3 separate regions of the Homo sapiens genome follow, and regions 2 and 3 are each linked to region 1. The links are contacts of gene promoters, found by promoter capture Hi-C in blood cells and fetal thymus (Javierre and others, 2016). All regions are on one chromosome and are shown on one strand. The core of a region is centred on a gene start or on the middle of the fragment in contact, and the rest is flanking DNA. Distances in the headings are between cores, read along the strand shown.

What was found. The method cuts DNA at HindIII sites, captures the fragments that hold promoters and counts their contacts. A CHiCAGO score of 5 or more calls a contact.
Region 2: a fragment that was not itself captured here is called in contact with the fragment with the promoter of TAS2R41 in region 1 in 2 of 17 cell types (M0 macrophages and M1 macrophages); the score reaches 6.0 in M0 macrophages.
Region 3: a contact is called between a fragment that was not itself captured here and the fragment with the promoter of TAS2R41 in region 1, in 1 of 17 cell types (M1 macrophages). The highest score is 5.0, in M1 macrophages.

The regions. Positions count from the first base shown.
Region 1 is chr7:143,476,294-143,480,025 of GRCh38, reverse strand. It overlaps TAS2R41 (taste 2 receptor member 41), which reads right to left and starts at 2,153. Exons shown (of 1, transcript NM_176883.2): 1 at 1,230-2,153. The coding sequence starts at 2,153. The coding sequence ends at 1,230. All of the region lies in intron 2 of EPHA1-AS1 (EPHA1 antisense RNA 1), which reads right to left. The HindIII fragment of the contact is 17,498 bases long and covers 1,289-3,732 here.
Region 2 is chr7:143,233,962-143,237,693 of GRCh38, reverse strand. It overlaps LOC105375546 (a long non-coding RNA gene), which reads right to left and starts at 119. Exons shown (of 3, transcript XR_007060569.1): 1 at 37-119. The HindIII fragment of the contact is 1,142 bases long and covers 1,094-2,235 here.
Region 3 is chr7:143,333,986-143,337,717 of GRCh38, reverse strand. All of the region lies in intron 12 of CLCN1 (chloride voltage-gated channel 1), which reads right to left. Among named protein-coding and RNA genes, the nearest start is that of CLCN1, 20 kb to the right of the region's middle. The HindIII fragment of the contact is 1,801 bases long and covers 695-2,495 here.

The DNA of each region.
Region 1 (3,732 bases), core at 904-3,403:
TTCCAAAAGTATTTCTAAAATCATTTGCATAGTAATTGGAGCAAGTTATTTTTAAAACAGTATTTAAACGTAAAATTTTGAACAGGGTGGTTCTTTTTAAAACAATATTTAAGTAGTTTTTAGATACAAACTAATGAATTTTTTTTAAGACGGTCTCACTCTGTTGCCCAGGCTGGAGTACAGTGATCACAGCTCACCGCAGCCTCTATCTCCTGAGCTCAAGTGATCCTCCCACCTCAGACTCACGAGTAGCTGGGACCACAGGTGCACACCACCACACCTGGCTGATTTTTTTGAATTTTTAGTGGAGAGGAGGTCTCGCTATCTTGCCCAGGCTGCTCTTGAACTCCTGAGCTCGAGCAGTCTGCCTGACTCAGCTTCCCAAAGTGTTGGGATTACGGACGTCACCACTCCCAGTCCAGTGAAATTCCTGAGTCTGTTTTTCAGATTGAAAAGTACATGTTTATTCAATGCAGATGTGACTCTGTGACATATGCTTGAGGAAGACAAGAAAGTCACAATGTGTCTTTTTCTAAAGGAATGATAAACAAGAAAAAAGTCTGGCTACTACTCAGACTTCAGAGAAGAGAAAATTGAAGTCAGAAATGTTAATGAGAAAAGAAACTGGGTGGTGTAAAGAAACCTTCCAGTAAACTTAATAAAATTAAAACCAGATTATCCAAGTTTGTGTGGAGACAAAGTATCTTCATGCAGTAAAGGGCAATCAGAACTCACAGCCCAGGCCACTGCCTGCCACAACTGCCTGTCCCTTGGGGCTCTCGTAGTAACCATGACATTTGTCCTCAAGAAGGCTGTCGCTTCACTATCCACATCTCAGTTCAGCCATAGAGGCAAATATTTGCTCTTAACTTTCTGAAAGGCAGTGGAGATGCGATGGCACAGTTAATCAACACTTTTAATCGAAGCCTTCCAGATAACAAAGGGGTACAAACGTAAGGAGTAGCACGACATCATATTAACATATTCTGAACTTCTGGGCAATACTGGCTCTCTGGGATCCATGGGACTGCATCTTTATAACATTCCAAAGAAGGGAAGCATGCTCAGAGAGTTCCCAGATTTCCTTGTCTCCTCCGCTTCCCAGAGGAGGAGCCCCATAACAGTACCCAGTATTCATCTACCTATGAAAACACCTCCATGTCAGTGGGCCACAGCTCTGCCATCCTCACCTTTCTTTTCCGGGGGTCTAGATAAGGAAACCATGCCATCTAGGCCACCCAGAAGCCCCTTGCCAACAACAGGAGCTGCGAGAACACGCTTCGAAGCTTGAGGTTGCTGAAGATGAGGATGAAGGGATGGACAGATATGCACAGGTAGACTGCAATTTGCCATGGCCAGTAAAAGTCGTTCTGCATGGAGATAAATTTTGCGGCATCAATGATCAGGGACAGAAAGGACAGAGCATAAAGAATGAGGAAGGAGATGAGGGACTTCAGAGCTCTGGTGTGAGCCTGGGTGCTGGGGTCCTGCAGGCTGTGCCCGTTGTGCTGCATTCTCTGAGTATGCCTCCTCAGAGAATTAATTAACAGCATAATTGAGACCAGAAAAACAGAAAAAGGAATTGACCAGATGACCAGTTTCAGGGATGGGAAATAGTATGTTTCTATCCTTGTATTCCACTTGTAGGTCATGTTCCCAGAAAATTTTCTAATTAAAAATTCTTGATATACAGGGTAGTTCACCCAAAAAAACAGCAGGGTTATGATGAAGGAGATCAGGACAGAGCCCAACAGGAGCCAGGGCACCCACCCTGGGAACCTCCACTTCAGCCACAGGAAGGTGGAGTGTGTGATGTTAGCAATCTTCACACAGAACAGGACACTGAGCCAGCTGCAAAACCAGAAGGTGGCTGAGTTCAGGAAGTGCCAGTGTAGATGGAAGAACTGTCGGCCGAGACCCCCAGAGTACTCGACCTTCTGGGCAGAGTAGTAGAAGTTGTGCACCGTCCCAACCAACTGCAGGCAGAAGCGGGAGGCACCCAAGCTAATGAGGATCATATCCAAGGGCAGCAACCTGCCATATCGCAGCCACTCCCTGCCCAGCACCAGCACAATGAAGCCATTCGCTGCAATCCCCAGAAGACTCAGCAGGCTAAAGAGCAACACGAAGAAGGCCGTCAGTGCTGCTTGCATTCTGACCCCTCCTGCAGTCCCCACTTGAGTGCCTTGGTCCCTGGCCTCCTCCCTGCCCCTAGCCACAGTCCTGTTTTTAATCTTTCCTAGGAGTGCTAAAGAGTGGTCAGGCTCTGCATCTGAACCAGAGCTCACTTAGAGAGGAGGATGCTCAGGCTAAAGAGGAGAGGTGTGCTCTTGGCTCAGACAGGATGCAAATTTATCCTAGTGTCAGTTACCACTAGGCCTGCAAATTACCCTAATTTGCCTTGTCCAGTTTTCCTGCATGCTGCCATGGTTAGTATCAATGTCTATGATTTTTCTGGGTCTCTGTGACTGAGTTCCATCCTCAGGCCGTATGAACACTCCTCTTCCCATCAGAACATTCTTAAGACTTTAAATATAGAGACAAGTATAGGAGATACACAGGAAAAATAGTGACATCAAAGAATTCTGTCTCAGTACTTCCCTGTTACACATCCATGCTTACCTTACTGCCTTTGCCCACAAATCGCTTCAAAATCAAACACTTCGTCTACCTCTCCATCCAGATCTCTACTTAGATCCTCCATGAATCCTGAGATGTAAATGATAATGGTGTAAACGGGTTTTGTATTTCCAGTGAGAGAATTCATTATCATGTGGTTGAGGGGCCTTCCGAAGCAGGACTGAGAGCCCCTGTTTCTTCCTGGGTGTTGGTGGGAGACTGCTCTCTGGTCCTAGAGGCCTCTCACAGTCTCTGCCAGGTAAGCTGTTTCAGCATGGCCACTCACGTCAAGTCAGCAGTCTCTAAAGGGAGTCTGCTAACAAGATGGGGTCTTAAATAACATAACACAATCATTGGAGTGACAGCCTATCACCTTTGCCATAGTCTATTGGCTAGAAGCAAGTCACTGTCACCAACAACACTCAAAAGAAGGAGGTTACACAAAGGCCCAACACCAGGGTTGAGGGACAGGCAGGGCCACTTTACAGTCTGTCTGCCACCCTGAGATACCCGAGGCATATGTGAGTCCTGTCTAACACCAACATCAAAAAGAAGTCCCTATGAGACCATGTTGAAAGTAAAAATATTTTCTTTTAAAATATATCTATCACCTCACATAATTCCTGTTTTCAATTTCTTCATGTGTAGTGAGAACACTTAAGATCTACCCTCTCATGAAAGTTCAAGTATACAGTGCAGTATTGTTTACTATACTCATACTACCATACCTTAGGTTTCCAAAGCATGTTCACTTAGCATAACTGAAACTTCATACCCCTTGACCAATATCTCCCCATTTCCCCTTCCAGAACCCTGGCAACCACCAATCTACTCTCTACTTCTGTGGGTTTGTTTTTTCAGATTCCACATGTAAGTGAGATCGTACAATATATGTATTTCTGTCTCTGGAGCATTTCACATAGCATAATGTCCTCCAGTTCCATCTACGTTGTTGCAAATGGCAGAATCGCCTTTTCTAAGACTGAATCATATTCCATTGTGTATGCACACCACATTTTCTTTGTTCATTCATCTGTTAATGGGCTTTTAGATTGTTTCCATGTCTTGGCTATTGTGAATAATTTTCAATGAACATGGGAGTGCAGATATCTC
Region 2 (3,732 bases), core at 415-2,914, 240 kb after region 1:
AAACCTGCCCCTTCAAGTAGTGGGGCTGCCACATACCTGCATGTGCCTACCAGGGAACCAAAGACTGGCCTGCCCAATGTCCTCATTTCCAGCAAAATTTTTCCACAGCCTCCACAAACAACTACAGTCTAAGTAAATGAGGAACTGGTAGACACCAGTGATGTTGACTACAGCCAAATAAATCATATGGAAACTGCACTATTGCACTCACTCAGAAATAAAGCCAAAGCAATCTACCCAACTGAGACTACAGATAAATCCACAGGAAAAAATATTTCCTTATTAAAGCTATTTAATTAAATTAGAAGAAGTGACTGTTGTGCCAGATGCACAGATATCAACATAAGGACACAAGAAACATGAAAAAGCAAAGAAACATGATGCCTCCAAAGGAACACAATAATTCTCCAATAACAGACCCCACAGAAAAGGAAATCTATGAAATGTCCAAAAACGAATTCAAAATAATGATCTTTAGGAAACTCAGCAAGATACAAGAGAACACAAATAGGGAATACAAAGAAATAAGGAAACAATTAATGACCTGAATGAGAAATTTGAAAAGGAATAGCTATAATAAAAAAGCCAAATAGAAATTTCAAAACTGAAGAATTCAATGAATAAAATAAAAGTACTGTTGAGAGCTTCAGCAATAGACTAGATCAAGCAGAAGAATTTCTGAACTTGAAGACAAATATTTTGAAATAGCCCGGTCAGACAAAAAGATATAAAGTACAAAAAAAGAATAAAAGGAATGAAGAAAACCTACGTGACATATGGGACACCATTAAGTGAACAAATATTTGCATTTTGAGAGTTTCAGAAGACATGGGAAAAGGCACAGAAAATGTATTTAATAAAAGAATAGTTGAAAACTTCCTAAGTCATGTGAGAGATACAGACATCCAGATAAAGGAAGGTCAAACATTCCCAAATAGATTCAACCCAAAAAGGTCCTCTCCAAGGCACATTTTGGTTAAACTGTCAAAAGGCAGAGACAAAGAGAGAATTCTAAAAACAGCAAGAGAAAAGTGTCAAGTCACATATAAGGGAATCGCCATCAGACTAACAGCAGATTTTTTCAGCAGAAGCTTTACAGGCCAGGAGAGAATGGGATGACATATTCAAAGTGCTGAAAGAAAACAAAACAAAACAAAAAACCAAATGGCTACCCAGAAATACTATGCCCAGCAAAGCTATCCTTCACTAATGAAGGAGAAGTAAAGTCTTTCTCTGACAAGCAAAAACCAAGAGAATTTATCACCACTAGACTTGCCTTAAAGGAGTCCTACATCTGGGAGTGAAAGGACAATAACTACCATCTTGAAAATACACAAAAGTATAAAACTCACTGGTAGATCAGATACATGAATGAGAGAAAGAAAGGAATCAGACATTATCAGTACAGAAAATCACCAAAGTCAAAAACATAAAAGAGACAAAGAAAGTCATTATAAAATGATAAAGGAACCAATTCAGCAAGAGGACATACAATTGTAAATATATATGCACTGCACACTGGAGCACCCAGATATATAAAGCAAATGTTGTTAGAGCTAAAGAAAGAGAGATAGGTATCAATACAATAATAGGTAAGAACTTCAGCAGACCACTTTCAGCTTTGGACAGATTCTCTAGACAAAATCAACAAGAAACATTGGACTTAAACTGTTCTGTAGACCAAATAGACCTAATAGACATTGACAGAATGTTTCATCCAACAGCAGCAGAAAATAATTTTCATCAGCACATGAAACATTCTCTGGGATATACTGTATGTTATGCCACAAAACAAATCTCAAGAAATTTTAACAAATCAAAATAGTATTGAGTATCTTCTAAGGCTACAATGAAACAAAACTCTAAAACAACAAGAGGAACTTCAGAAACTGTATAAATACATGGAAAGTAAGCAATGTCCACTCAAACAAACGTGGATCTATGAAGCAATAAGAAGGAAGTAAATTTTTTTTGAAACAATGAGAATAGAAACAAAACATACCAAAACCTATGGGATACAGCAAAAATATTACTAAGAGAGAACTTTATAGCAGTAAATGCCAACATCAAAAAAGTAGAAAGAGTTTGAATAAACAACCTCAAAATGTATCTCATGGAAGTAGAGAAGCAAGAATGACCCAAACTTAAAATTAGTAGAAGGAAAGAAATAATACAGGTCAGAATAAAACTAAATAAAATAGAGACAAAAATACAAAAGATTAACAAAATGAAGCTTGTCTTTTTGAAAAGATAAAGTCAACGAATCACTAGCTGGACTAAGAAAAAAGAGGGAAGAAATAAAATCAGAAACAAAAAAGGAGACATTACAACTGATACCACAGAAATGAAAAAAGATCATTAGAAATTATTATAAACAACAATACATCAACAGACTGAGAAACCTAGAGGAAATAAGAAAATAGATAAATTCCAGGACACATATAACCTACAAAGATTGAACCAGGAAGAAATAGAACACCTGGACAGACTAATAATGAGTAATGAGATTTAATCAAACCTCTTTTTCTTTATAAATTACCCAGTCTCAGGTATTTCTTCATAGCAATATGAAAATGGACTAATGCAGTCATGTATTGTTTGATAATATGTAAGAAGACTTAATCAAACCTCTTTTTTTTTGAGATGGAGTCTTGCTTTGTCACTCAGGCTGGGTGTGACCTGAGCTCCCTGCAACCTCTGCCTCCTGGGTTCAAGCGATTCTCCTGCCTCAGCCTCTTGAGTAGCTGGGATTACAGGCACCCGCCACCACCCCTGGCTAATTTTTGTATTTTTAGAAGAGATGGGATTTCACCACGTTGGCCAGGCTGGTCTTGAACTCCTGACCTCAGGTGATCCTCCTGCCTCAGCCTCCCAAAGTGCTGGAATTACAGGCGTGAGCCACCATGCCCGGCTCAAACCTCTTTTTCTTTATAAATTATCGAGTCTTGGGTATTTCTTCATAGCAGTATGAAAATGGACTAATACAGTCACATATTGTGTAATAAAAAGTCCCCCAACAAAGAAAAGCCCAGGGCAGAATGGCTTTACTGGTGAATTTTCCTAAAATTTTAAAGAAGAACTGACATCAACTTTTCTCAATCTATTTTGAAAAATTGAAGAAGAGGGAATTTTTCCTAACTCATTCTAATAGGCCAGCATTATCCCGATACCAAAGCCGGACAAAGGCACAACAAAAAAGGAGAAAACAACAGGCAATATCCTTGATGAACATAGATGCAAAAGTTCTCAACAAAATATTAGGGAACTGAATCCAACAGCACATCAAAAAGATAGTATACCATGATGAAGTGGGCTTTCCCAGGGATGCAAGAATGTGTCAACAGAGGCAAGTTAATAAATGTGATACATCACATCAAAAGAATGAGAGACAAATGCAATATGATCATCTCAACAGATGCAGAAAAAGCATTTGATAAAATTAAACCTCCATTCATAATGAAAACTCTCAACATAGGGACTTGAGAGCTTAGGAATTGAAGGAACATACCTGAATTATATATAGAAGGAACATACCTCAACACAATAAAGGCCATATATGACAAACCCAAAGCTAACATCCTACTGAATGAGGAAATGCTGAAAACTTTTCCTCAAAGAACCAGAACAAGAGAAGGATGCCCACTCTCACCACTCTTCTTCAACATAGTACTAGAATTGGGCAAGAGAAAGAAATATGGAAGGTGTCCAAACTGGAAAAGAGGATGTAAAATT
Region 3 (3,732 bases), core at 346-2,845, 140 kb after region 1:
AAAGCAACAGGTTTATATATCCCTTCCAAAATAAGTAAACCAATTTCAGAAATGGATCTCAAACTTATTAGGTGTAAGAAGGTAGCAGCTAAAGCTCAGGACAAACTGCCAAGATGAAAGTATTCACAATTTTAGAGCTGTGCGCAATTGCACTGTAAGCTAACGAGAAATATATTTCTTAATTTTCAGAACCGTAGAAAGAAAGAACTCCCCTCATCCAGGGCTGACCTCAGGAGACAGTGACAAAGACTCTAAGAAAGTCTCATCCCAGAAGATCTGAGATGAGGCAAAACACACACTCCTTCATGTCAGAATATGACTATTCAAAAACAGTTGAGAACTATAAAAATGAATGGGCAAAATGAAGAGAATAGAGACTGAGAATCCCCTGAGGACAGAGAGTGCATCTTGTCCTTTCTGCCTTCTCTCTGCACTGGCACAGTGCTCAGTAAATGTAGGAAGGGTGTAGCTAGGTGAGTAGGTAGAAAGGAAGGAAGGAAAGAACGAAGATGGGCTGAACAAATAGTATTCATGCAAAGGAGGAAAAGCTTCTCAGAGCTAATATTTGCTAAAACACTAAAGAGTAATGCTCATCCAGGGGAACTTGCTTTAAAATGCAGATGACCAGACCCCACTGGAAGCTACCACATCAGATTGTCTGCAGATAGGGCTATAGGCACTTGTAATTTAAGCTTCTTAAGTGATTCTGACATTTAACAGTTGGACTGAACTATCCTGTACCATCTCTTTGAAATAAGTACATAAAAGCCATAAGAGATTTTGTAGGCTCAGGTTAATCTGAAAGCTCTAGCAATTCATATAACAGGTAACCAATAGGTCTGATTTCAGAAGATGTATTTTAGATTATCCTCCAAGATATGTGTAAGAACAGTATTACAATCAGAAGACATTGAAGTTATCAACTCCTATAGCACAAAGGTTGACACATGAGATTAACAAACTTTTTTAGCTATTGGCACGTGAAAGAAAAGATCCAGAAGTAATGTGAAACACAAATAACTCCCAAGACTTTCTTCTTTCTCTTTCTTTCTTTCTTTCCCTTCCTTCCTTCCTTTTTTTTTCTTCTTCTTCTTTTTTTTTTTTTTTTTTTTTGACAGAGTCTTGTTCTGTCACCCAGGCTGGAGTGCAATGGTGTGTCAGCTCACTGCCACCTCTGGCTCCCGCGTTCAAGCAATTCTCCTGCCTCAGCCTCCCGAGGAGCTGGGATTACAGGCGCCTGCCACCACGCCCAGGTAATTTTTGTATTTTTAGTTGAGACAGGGTTTTGCCATGTTGGCCAGGCTGGTCTCAAACTCTTGACCTCAGGTGATCCGCCTGCTTTGGCCTCCCAAAGTGCTGGGATTACACCCAGCTTTTTTTTTTTTTTCTTCAGATCTAGACCTACAGAACTACCACGATTTTAAACACTCAATTTCAGGGAACTGGAAAACTGGAAACCCATTATGGGTTTCCACCATATTTAGACCCTTCATTAGAAGGAGTAAAATGAAGAATTCACTTCGGGAGAATGAAGTGAAAGGAGTGAAAAAAAATTCAACAGAGCCTCAGGCTGTGCAGAGAACTTAGTGATACTAGGTAACAATGTTAGACTTATTAAAAGCAAACTGAGAATTTGGAATGGTATTCATACTCATTGTAAAAGCTCTTCTCTTGATGTATAATGTAATGACACTTTCCACGTCATGAGATTAAGGAAGATGGAAGTTCTCTTCATTAATATTATAAAACAGCTGAATTGGCCAGGTGCGGTGGCTCACGCCTGTAATCCCAGCACTTTGGGAGGCTGAGGCGGGCAGATCATGAGGCAAGGAGATCGAGACCATCCTGGCTAACAAGGTGAAACACCGTCTCTACTAAAAATACAAAAAAATTAGCTGGGCGTGGTGGCGGGCACCTGTAGTCCCAGCTACAGGTAAGGCTGAGGCAGGAGAATGGCGTGAACCTGGGAGCCGGAGCTTGCAGTGAGCCGAGATTGTGCCACTGCACTCCAGCCTGGGCTACAGAGTGAGATTCCGAATCAAAAAAAAAAAAAAAACAAAACAGCTGAATTGAGAATCTTACCTGCCTGTACAGATGCTGCTAGAAGACCACATAGACTACATTTCAAATTAGGCACTGGAAAAATTGTTTCAGTCATGTTTATATTTTAGTTTAGCTATGTATCCTACCTAGCTAAAAAATAAGAGTATGGTTATTGTGTCCAATGATTAGACAGTGAAAATGCTGGGAAGTGGTGATAACCAGGGAATATCATAGATTTGTAGCAGTGAATGGTTTTATGTTCGTAAATATTATAGGATATTATAGGCCTGCTGCAAACTGTTAGGCTTGAAATATAGCCCAGGAAGTATATGTTTCTTTTCCTGATACAGTATGATGTAACATTATCAAGGATATAATCTAGTGAGAAATTAATAATTGTGGCATACAGGTGAGTCCTCTATATCATCTAAGTAGGTTTCTCAAAATAAGCTTGAATTTGCGAAGTGGAATCCAGACATATACTTGGGAATCTGGAGAGCTGGGATGAGGTTTGGCAGAAATGTTGAAAAATATACAGTATTTCGTTTCTACAGGACTTTTCAAAATCTTGATATTTTAAAGGTACATACGATGCCAATGTTGCCGTATAGCTCAGTCTAGAGGAATCTCAGAAAAATACAGTTATCATCATTGGACTACCGTCCAATTCTGAGATCCACCAAAATTTGTACTTGGTTACTGTAGATGGGTTTGTGTACTCAACAACTAATTATAGGAGGTTGGGATTTATAAATTAGAGAAGATGAACTCTATAATGAAAGTCTAAAAATCAAATCCCTAACAAGACACTGAAAACTTCTTTCATGATAAAAATGTAAAATCTTTTGAAGAAAGACATTTTAAAGGGATTAAATTAATAAAGTGAATGTGCAAAATATGAATGCTGTAGATTCAACTAAACCACCTAAAGTGGAATGGGGAAGATCATTTGCAAATACAGTTTCTAGACACCCTGGGAATATGTTACAGAGTTGAAATCTGGTGTTTCACGTATCTGCTGTCTCTAGTCTTAACATCACTAAAAAATTAAATTAAATAAACAGCAAAAAATAGAACGTTTTAAAATATTTAAAAATTTTTTTTCTGTTGCAAGCATAAGATATAGCTAAAGGTTAATGATGAAATATTATGTACTTGGCACATAGTAAATGCTTAATAACATTTATTGAACAAATGAACTCATGAACCCACTGTAGCTATTGCAATATAAATATAACTTGGTGACTCATATCCTGGGAAAACATAGATTTATAAAAGGTATCATAAATAAGTTAATAGCAAGGTATTCAAAAGCTTGAAAGTTCAGTATGAACAGACTTATAAATGAGAACTCTAATATACAGAGGAAAGTGTTGTGTTATTTAGGCAAGACATACTATTAGTAAAAAAGATAATCATCACAAAAGAAAAAAAAGGGCAATCAATAATTTTTTTTTTTTTCTTGAGGAGTGTTGCCCTTGTCGCCCAGGCTGGAGTGCAATGGCACAATCTTGGCTCACTGCAACCTCCGCCTCCTAGGTTCAAGCAATTCTCCTGCCTCAGCCTCCCAAGTAACTGGGATTACAGGCATGTGCCACCACACCTGGTTAATTTTGTGTTTTTAGTAGAGACAGGGTTTCACCATGTTGGTCAGGCTAGTCTCCAACTCCTGACCTCAGATGACCCACC